Linked DNA regions of Homo sapiens: region 1 is linked to region 2. The links are contacts of gene promoters, found by promoter capture Hi-C in human tissues and cell types (Jung and others, 2019). All regions are on one chromosome and are shown on one strand. The core of a region is centred on a gene start or on the middle of the fragment in contact, and the rest is flanking DNA. Distances in the headings are between cores, read along the strand shown. Region 1 has its middle 9.8 kb from the start of URGCP-MRPS24. Region 2 holds the start of YKT6 (YKT6 vesicular SNARE protein).

What was found. The method cuts DNA at HindIII sites, captures the fragments that hold promoters and counts their contacts. A contact is called where the count stands out against the background at its distance.
Region 1: a fragment that was not itself captured here is called in contact with the fragment with the promoter of YKT6 in region 2 in 1 of the 25 tissues and cell types used here (spleen).

The regions. Positions count from the first base shown.
Region 1 is chr7:43,914,213-43,918,654 of GRCh38, reverse strand. It overlaps a transcript of URGCP not described here and the pseudogene TUBG1P. Among named protein-coding and RNA genes, the nearest start is that of URGCP-MRPS24, 9.8 kb to the right of the region's middle. The HindIII fragment of the contact is 8,195 bases long and covers 1-4,442 here.
Region 2 is chr7:44,199,002-44,203,466 of GRCh38, reverse strand. It overlaps YKT6 (YKT6 vesicular SNARE protein), which reads right to left and starts at 2,489. Exons shown (of 7, transcript NM_006555.4): 1 at 2,228-2,489. The coding sequence starts at 2,331. RefSeq lists a silencer at 2,313-2,382. The HindIII fragment of the contact is 4,070 bases long and covers 1-2,969 here.

The DNA of each region.
Region 1 (4,442 bases), core at 692-3,191, 280 kb after region 2:
GCTGCCGCGTGCCAGCCCCCCAGATATCCACTTTTAATTAAGCTGAGCGCTCTTTAAGAAAATCCTATTTTGGGGTCTGGGTGTGGTGACTCATGTCTGTAATCCTAGCACTTTGGGAGGCCGAAGTGGGCGGATCACTTGAGGTCAGGAGTTCAAGACCAGCCTGGCCAACATGGTGAAACCCCATCTCTACTAAAAATACAAAAATTAGCTGGAAATCACTTGAACCCAGGAGGCGGAGGTTGCAGTGAGGCAAGATCATGCCACTGCACTGTAGCCTGGGCAACACAGCAAGACTCCATCTAAAAAAGAAAAGAAAGGAAAGGGAAAGGAGAAGGGAAAGGAAAGGGAAAGGAAATCCTTTTTTTCTTTCTTTTTTTTTTTTTTTTTTTGAGGTCTATTGCCCAGGCTGGAGTGCAGCAGTGTGATCTCCACTCACTGAAACCTCTGCTTTTTGGGTTCAAGTGATTCTCCTGCATCAGCCTCCTGAGTAGCTGGGATTACAGGCACCCACCACCATGCCCAACTAATTTTTGTATTTTTAGTAGAGACAGGGTTTCGCCATGTTGCCCAGGATGGTCTAGAACTCCTGACCTCAAGTGATCCACTTGCCTCAGCCTCCCAAAGTGCTGGGATTACAGGCGTGAACCACTATGCCCAGCTGTGTTTTTTGTTTTGTTTTGTTTTGTTTTTTGAGACGGTCTTGCTCTGTCACCCAGGCTGGAATACAGGGCACAATCATGGCTCACTGCAGCCTCAACCTCCTGGATTCAAGCAACCCTCCCTCCTCAGCTTCCTGGGTAGCTGGGACTACATGCCACCATGCCCAGCCAATTTTTTATTTTTTATAGAGACAGGGTCTCACTATGTTGCTGGAATATAGGCATGAGCCACCACACCTGGCCAAGAAAATCCTTTTAAATCCTTTATTACCCAACATTAGCCATGCCAAGCAGCCAATATTTCTGGCTTCTGAACATTACCAAAGGTAACCTCCCAGGTGTTCAGAGAAAGGAAAATTTAAGGTGGTTCATGAAGGGGAAGAGAATCAACAAATGATAAAGGTCACAAAGATATCAAGCCAGAAAGGACTCATTCCCTAAGCCAGGATTGAACCCGGGCTGCCACTGTAAAATGGCAGAAGCTAAAACAAAGCACTGCCATGTGGTTACAGGTCACGCTTCCAAGGACGTAAAACCAGATGGAGGCCTGCAGCAAAGTTTGCCACTGGCCAGTTTGCTGGGCTTGCTTCAACAGCAGGCCTATGGAGTCCTAGACCCACATCCCATCCCAAGGTACCCCTCTTTCTGACAGAACTATACGGAGAGACATGCAGAGCACACCAGCTTGGCTACAGCTTAAGACCAACCTCACAAATCCTTTTTTATTAATTAAAACTTTACAGATAATATAAACAGTGATCCTTATCATTCCCTTTCTGGTTTGTTTAGGGAGACAGAGGTCAAAATCCTGACTGGTTAAAACAAAAAACAAAAAAACTCCTACCCTTTTGCTGACATGTCAGGCTTCTGAGTTCCCTCCCTGCTGAGCTCAATCCCAAGCCAACCAGTTTAAGGTTTAGGAAATTAACTTCTCCCAGTTTGGAGGATACATCCCAGGAGAGCATCCCACAGCATGGGGACACAATCACCCATCTGTAAAGAGAGGACAGAGGAGGAGAAAGGAATAAGAAGGCATTTATTTAAAGGAGCCCCAGGACTCAGGATGCATTTGAAAGATGTATGCCTACTCATCTAGAAAGAGGGGAGCAAGGCGTCCCTGGTTCCCTTCTCTTCCTAGCAAATACCCGAGGTACATGAGGGAGAGAAAGCAAGGCGTCCCTCTTTCTTTTGTCCTTGTATCCCTGAGTCCCGGCAACCATGACAGGATGCCTCCCATGGGTGTCAAAGTGGCTTTCACCCATGTTATGTGGGGGGGGGGGGTGGGTAGGGAGTGGGATTATCTGCTCTTACCCATATATGCCTTATCTTCTCTGTTGTCAATAGCCTTTGCATTCCCTAGACCTCATTTATGCCATGGATACTAGCATGACCTTTATCCATGAAATGAGGCTTGGCTTAATCCGCAGAAATTAGTCATGCTTACCTGTGCTGTACCTTTTCACTTCTGTTGTCGTCTGCCTCTGGATCCCTCAGATCCAGTTTTCTTTCCTAGGGCTTCGATCCAAAGCTTGGAATTGAGTTTGGGTCAAAATAACTGCCTCAGGATGTTGCATGGACTCCTTACCAAGCTGAATGCTAAGGTCAAGCTGTGGAATTGAGTCCTTCTCCAACAAGGGAGAGAAAAGGGGTGTCTTCTGAGTTGGGATCCTGGCTGAGTAAAACATCTTCTAAAAGGAAAAAAGCCTGTAGCGTAGAGAAGCCCCCTCTACTTGCAGGGCCATGTTATTGGGTTGGTGCAAAAACAGTCACAGTCCTCGCCGTTCTAAGTAATAGCAAAAACTGCAACTACTTTTGCACCAACCTATTCCTGGCCTGGTGGAGAAAAGGAAAAGAAAAACAGCGTAAATGCAGGGCTTTGTTAACTGCTGACAGGATGGAGAAAAGAAAAAGATGCCCGGAGAACAAACCTTTTATTCTTATGCAAATGAGTTTCTCCAACAGGGAGAGAAACTTTTTTTTTTTAAGATGGAGTTTCACTGTTGTTGCCCAGGCTGCAGTGCAGTGGCACAATCTTGGCTCACTCCAGCCTCCACCTCCCAGGTTCAAGTGATTCTCCTGCCTCAGCCTCCCGAGTAGCTGAGATTACAGGTGCATGCCACCATGCCCGGCTAATTTTTGTATTTTTAGTAGAGACGGGGTTTCACCATGTTGGCCAGGCTAGTCTCAAACTCCTGACCTCAGGTGATCTGCCCGCCTCAGCCTCCCAAAGTGCTGGGATTACAGGCATGAGCCATTGCGCCTGGCCAAGAAACTTTTAATTGCTGTTTCTACCCTGGGGTTTGGACTGAGCTGGACCCCTCAGCAGGAGGAGGGGAAGACTCCATGGTATGTGGTGTGGAACACTGGACAGACAGCTGCATGGGGCCCTTGGGCCATGAGCCCCAGCCCCAGCTGGGAGGGGCAGGGAGCCACCACTTGCCTGTCCGTCCCATGCATGCATCTGCAGCCATTGAGGTGGGGGTGGAATACCCCCAATATTGTAAAAGATAAGTGCCATTACAGTCCTGCAAACAGAAGGAAAATGCCATAGAAAAGGCTGAGTTGGACCAAGGCTGACATTCCCAGTCCCTGAGAGCAATGGGGTGAGGGGGTGCAGTTTCCTCTATCCTCAGAAGAAGGCTGAGGACAAGAAAGCTCAAAAAGGAAAGGGAAACAGATTTTTTTGGTGTGCATTTTACTCATCCCTCCTCATGTCCCTGTATGGGCCACCAAAATGATGCAGGATTTTTTGCTCCTTAGCTCCACTAAATCTGGGTTCTTGTCTCACAACTAGGAAAAATTAGGCACACAGACACCTGTGAAAGGTGAGGAGAGCAGAATTTATTAAAAGAAAGCTCTCATCTCAGCAAAAAAGAGAGGGTCCTGCCAACAGGCTCCCACCTCACAGATTGAATACCAGGCCAACACACATGAGCTGAAGAGGCCAGGCTCCTCTCCCAGCATAAGGGGTGAATTCCTGGTGGCTCCACCCCCATTCTTCAGTGCGCATGCGGGCCGTTAGTCTGAGCCACTCCACATTGATTTCCCTTACTGCATTTGTGTTAAGGGACAGAATTTTTCACCATGGGCATGTTTAGGGAAGTACCCTGTGCACCATGACCTGTGCGGCATATGGCTGTCTCCTATCTCTATCAGTAGTATCAGTAAAGAGATAGAAAACCTACAAAGAAACCGAAAAATAATTCTGGAGCTGAAAAGTATAATAACAAATAAAAAATGCACTGGAGGGATTCAAAGCAAATTTGAACAGAGAAAAGAATCTGTGAACTTGGAGATAGAACAATGGAAATTACCAAATCTGAGGAACAAAACCATCTGGGGATGCAGTCCAGTAGGTCTCAGCCTTATTTTACTCAGCCTCTATTCAAGATGGAGTTGCTGTGATTCAAATGCCTCTAACACAAGTGAGATGAACTCAGAGAGGAGATCCACACTGACACATAATTAAACTCTTATTTTTTATTTTTTTGAGACACTCTCATCCTGCCACCCAGGCTGGAGTACAGTGGTATGATCTTGGCTCACTGCAACCTCCATCTCCCAGGCTCAAGAGATGCTCTCACCTCAGGCACCCAAGTAGTTAGGACTACAGACATGCATTAGCATACCCGGCTAAATTTTTTTTGAGGGTGGTTAGAGATGCGGTTTTACCATGTTTCCCAGGCTGATCTCAAGCTCCTGGGCTCAAGCAATCCACCCCACCTCAGCCTCCCAAAGTGCTGGGATTACAGGTGTGAGCCACCACACCCAGCCATAATT
Region 2 (4,465 bases), core at 1,240-3,739:
TTCAACTTTGGAATCGGGTAATTATAGGGCACAAAGGACGTAAGTAAAGCGGTCTTATAAGAAAACAAGCTCAGGCCGGACGTGGTGGCTCAAGCCTGTAATCCTAGCACTTTGGGAGGCCAAGGCAGGCGGATCACTTGAGCTCAGGAGTTCGAGACCAGCCTGGCTAACATGGTAAAACCCCATCTCTACTAAAAATACAAAAATTAGCCGGGTGTGGTGGTGCGCGCCTGTAATCCCAGCTACTTGGGAGGCTGAGGCAGGAGAATCACTTGAACCCAGGAGGCGGAGGTTGCAGTGAGCTGACACTGTGCCACTGCACTCCAGCCTGGGTGACAGAGCAAGACTCCATCTAAAATAAAATAAATAAATAAATAAATCAGCTGGGACATGTGTTGTTTTAAGACATATTAGTAGAGATGTCCCTTTAGTGTTGCAGCTGTTAGTCATTGGAAACTAGTGTGGGCATCCCAAGCAGGTGAGGTATAAGTCCTACAAGTGAAATCTCTGAGAATCTTAAGTACTAATGGGAAGGAAAAAGGAAAAAGAATCAGAGCCAAGTTGGCACCAAAAGTTCCATCTGAGAAAAGCAACAACACAGAGCAGTGAATGTAGGCCATGGTAAAGACTGCAAAGACCAAGAACCCCAAGAAGGAGCTAAAAGATAATGCAGCAATTCCGCTTCTGGGTAAATACCAAAAAAATGCGAGCAGGGTCTTGAAGAGATATTTGTACATCCATGTTCATAGCAGTATCATTCACAATGGCTGAAATGTGGAAGCAACCCAGGTGTCCACTGACAGATGAACAGATAAGCAAAATGTGGTGAATAATACAATGGATTATTCAGCCTTAAAAAGGAAAGAAATTCTGATATATGCAACAAGATGCATGAGCCTTGAGGACATTATGCTACATGAAATAAGCCAGACACACAAAAACTATATGATTCCATTTATCTAAGGTCGCCAGAAAAGTCAAAATCACAGAGACAAATTAGAATGGCAGTTGCCATGGGCTGGGGGAGAAGGGAATGTGTTTAATAGACACGAATTTGATAAAAAGGAGTTCTGGAGACGATTGACAGTGATGGCTGCACAACACTATCAATCTATTTCATATCAATGCACTCACTACACGCTTAAAGATAGTGAAGATAAATTTTGTGTACCATTTTACCACAATTAAAAATATTTTTTTAAAAGAACTCAAAGAAGCAGAAAGTTTCAACAAAATAACATTTTTTTTTTTTTACATCCAGCAAGTCCTTGGCAAAGAACTCTCATCAAGAACCAGCTGCACTGAAGCAGGGAAAACAGAATCCAAACGGCAGATTCCATCAGATTTTGAGACAAGATGACCATAGATACCGACCATGTAGGGTCCTCCTTCTTTCGTGCCTGAGTCACCCCAATCCCTCCCACGAATGGTCTGGAAGTGTCTGTGTTACTTCTAACACGTTCCAGCAATTAAAGCGCCCCAGAAACAAGTAAAAGCCTGTAAGCCCTACAGATCCCATGCTTCATTTGCATCTTCCGTGTGGAATCCTTTTGTACCACTAGTGTCCAACTAAAAAGCGTTAAACCTGGCTTTCAGTTCTAGCTGGTTGTGATATAACCTCTTGGTACCTCAGTGACTTCACCCATTAAAAACAAACAAAAAAAAGTATATCACTATCTCTCATACAGAATTGTTGGGAAGCCCCGCAAGAAAATCAAAATATGGCTCTCAAGATGCGGCACCCAAGCTCCCAGAGTCAGAATCACTGGGTGGGAAGTGTTGGTCTAAAATATAAATACCGAGGCCTCAATCTACTAATTCAGAACATCTTGGCATGAAGCTTGGAAATCTGCACTACTTCACAGTCTCCTTAAAATTTTTACACGACAGAAATTTGAAAAACACTGAGTAGAGAACTATATTCTAGAATGGTATAAGCTCTTAAAGAGCTAATGTTGGTTCCTCAAAGGTAGAGTCCACGGCCAGATTCCATTATAGGAGACCAAGCCCGGACAGCAGACCCCGGGCCCTCCCCACCCCGCCCCGCCTCTGACTCGGACACCAGCCTTCTCAGACCCCGGGCACTCGGCCACCCCGCCCTGCCCCTACCCTTGGCCTCCTCCACCCTCCCCTCATCCCTCCGCCGACCCCAGGCCCACTCCGACTCGGACCCCCACCCCAGTCCTCTCCGCCCGACCGCCACGGCCCACCAGCCTGTGCCGCTCACCTGGATCTCTGGAAAAAGCTGAAGGAAGACACATCGTATGCGGCTTTGAGCAGCACCACCTTGGCCTCGCCTTTGTAGAGGACGCTGAGGCTGTACAGCTTCATGGCTCCGCGCCCTCAGGCCGCCCGCCTGCCCAGCTGCGGGACCCGTTCTCAGGGAGCAGCGCGGCCGCCGCCCCTCGGGACCGCCGCCGCCTACCGGCCTCTCAGCAGCCGGCTGCTGACGGGGCCACCGCCGGCTTCCTCCTCCTGGCTCGCAATCCACTTCCGGATCCGGTCAGCCTGGTTGAGGGTTCTCATACTCCGGATGCAGAAATGTGAGCCCGGAAGTACAATGCAGCGAGGGGCGGGATGCCACGCCTCGCGTAAGCTTGGCCCCTCCCTGCTCGCCAGGTGGAGTCGGGCGCGCGGCGGGATACCGTACTGTCTTGTGCTGGGTGGTGCTGGGCCTCCCACAGCGGCCTGAACCCTTCTTTTTTTTTTTTTTCTTTTCTTTCTTTTTTTAAAGTAAGCATTTTTTTTATTATTATACTTTAAGTTTTAGGGTACATGTGCACAACGTGCAGGTTTGTTACATATGTATACATGTGCCATGTTGGTGTGCTGCACCCATTAACTCGTCATTTAGCATTAAGTATATCTCCTAATGCTATCCCTCCCCCCTCCCCCCACCCCACAACAGTCCCCGGTGTGTGATGTTCGCCTTCCTGTGTCCATGTGTTCTTATTGTTCAATTCCCACCTATGAGTGAGAACATGCGGTGTTTGGTTTTTTGTCCTTGCAATAGTTTGCTGAGAATGATGGTTTCCAGCTTCATCCATGTCCCTACAAAGGACATGAACTCATCATTTTTTATGGCTGCATAGTATTCCATGGTGTATATGTGCCACATTTTAGGAGGAGCTTGTACCATTCCTTCTGAAACTATTCCAATCAAAAGAAAAAGAGAGAATCCTCCCTAACTCATTTTATGAGGCCAGCATCATCCTGATACCAAAGGGTGGCAGAGAGAGACACAACAAAAAAAGAATTTTAGACCAATATCCTTGATGAACATTGAAGCAAAAATCCTCAGTAAAATACTGGCAAACCGAATCCAGCAACACATCAAAAAGCTTATCCACCATGATCAAGTGGGCTTCATCCCTGGGATGCAAGGCTGGTTCAACATACGAAAATCAGTAAACGTAATCCAGCATATAAACAGAACCAAAGACAAAAACCACATGATTATCTCAATAGATGCAGAAAAGGCCTTTGACAAAATTCAACAACCCTCATGCTAAAAACTCTCAATAAATTAGGTATTGATGGGACGTATCTCAAAATAATAAGAGCTATCTATGACAAACCCACAGCCAATATCATACTGAATGGACAAAAACTGGAAGCATTCCCTTTGAAAACTGGCACAAGACTGGGATGCCCTCTCTCACCACTCCTTTTCAACATAGTGTTGGAAGTTCTGGCCAGGGCAATCAGGTAGGAGAAGGAAATAAAGGGTATTCAATTAAGAAAAGAGGAAGTCAAATTGTCCCTGTTTGCAGATGACATGATTGTATATCTAGAAAACCCCATCGTCTCAGCCCAAAATCTCCTTAAGCTGATAAGCAACTTCAGCAAAGTCTCAGGATACAAAATCAATGTGCAAAAATCACAAGCAGTCTTATACACCAATAACAGACAGAGAGCCAAATCATGAGTGAACTCCCATTCACAATTGCTTCAAAGAGAATAAAATACCTAGGAATCCAACTTACAAGGGATGTGAAGGACCTCTTCAAGGAGAACTACAAACGACTGCTCAATGAAATAAAAGAGGATACAAACAAATGGAAGAACATTCCATGCTCATGGGTAGGAAGAATCAGTATCGTGAAAATGGCCATACTGCCCAAGGTAATTTATAGATTCAATGCCATCCCTATCAAGCTACCAATGACTTTCTTCACAGAATTGGAAAAAACTAAAGTTCATATGGAACCAAAAAAGAGCCCGCATTGCCAAGTCAATCCTAAGCCAAAAGAACAAAGCTGGAGGCATCACACTACCTGACTTCTAACTATACTACAAGGCTACAGTAACCAAAACAGCATGCTACTGGTACCAAAACAGAGATATAGAGCAATGGAACAGAACAGAGCCCTCAGAAATAATGCCGCATATCTACAAGCATCTGATCTTTGACAAACCTGACAAAAACAAGCAATGGGGAAAGGATTCCCTATTTAATAAATGG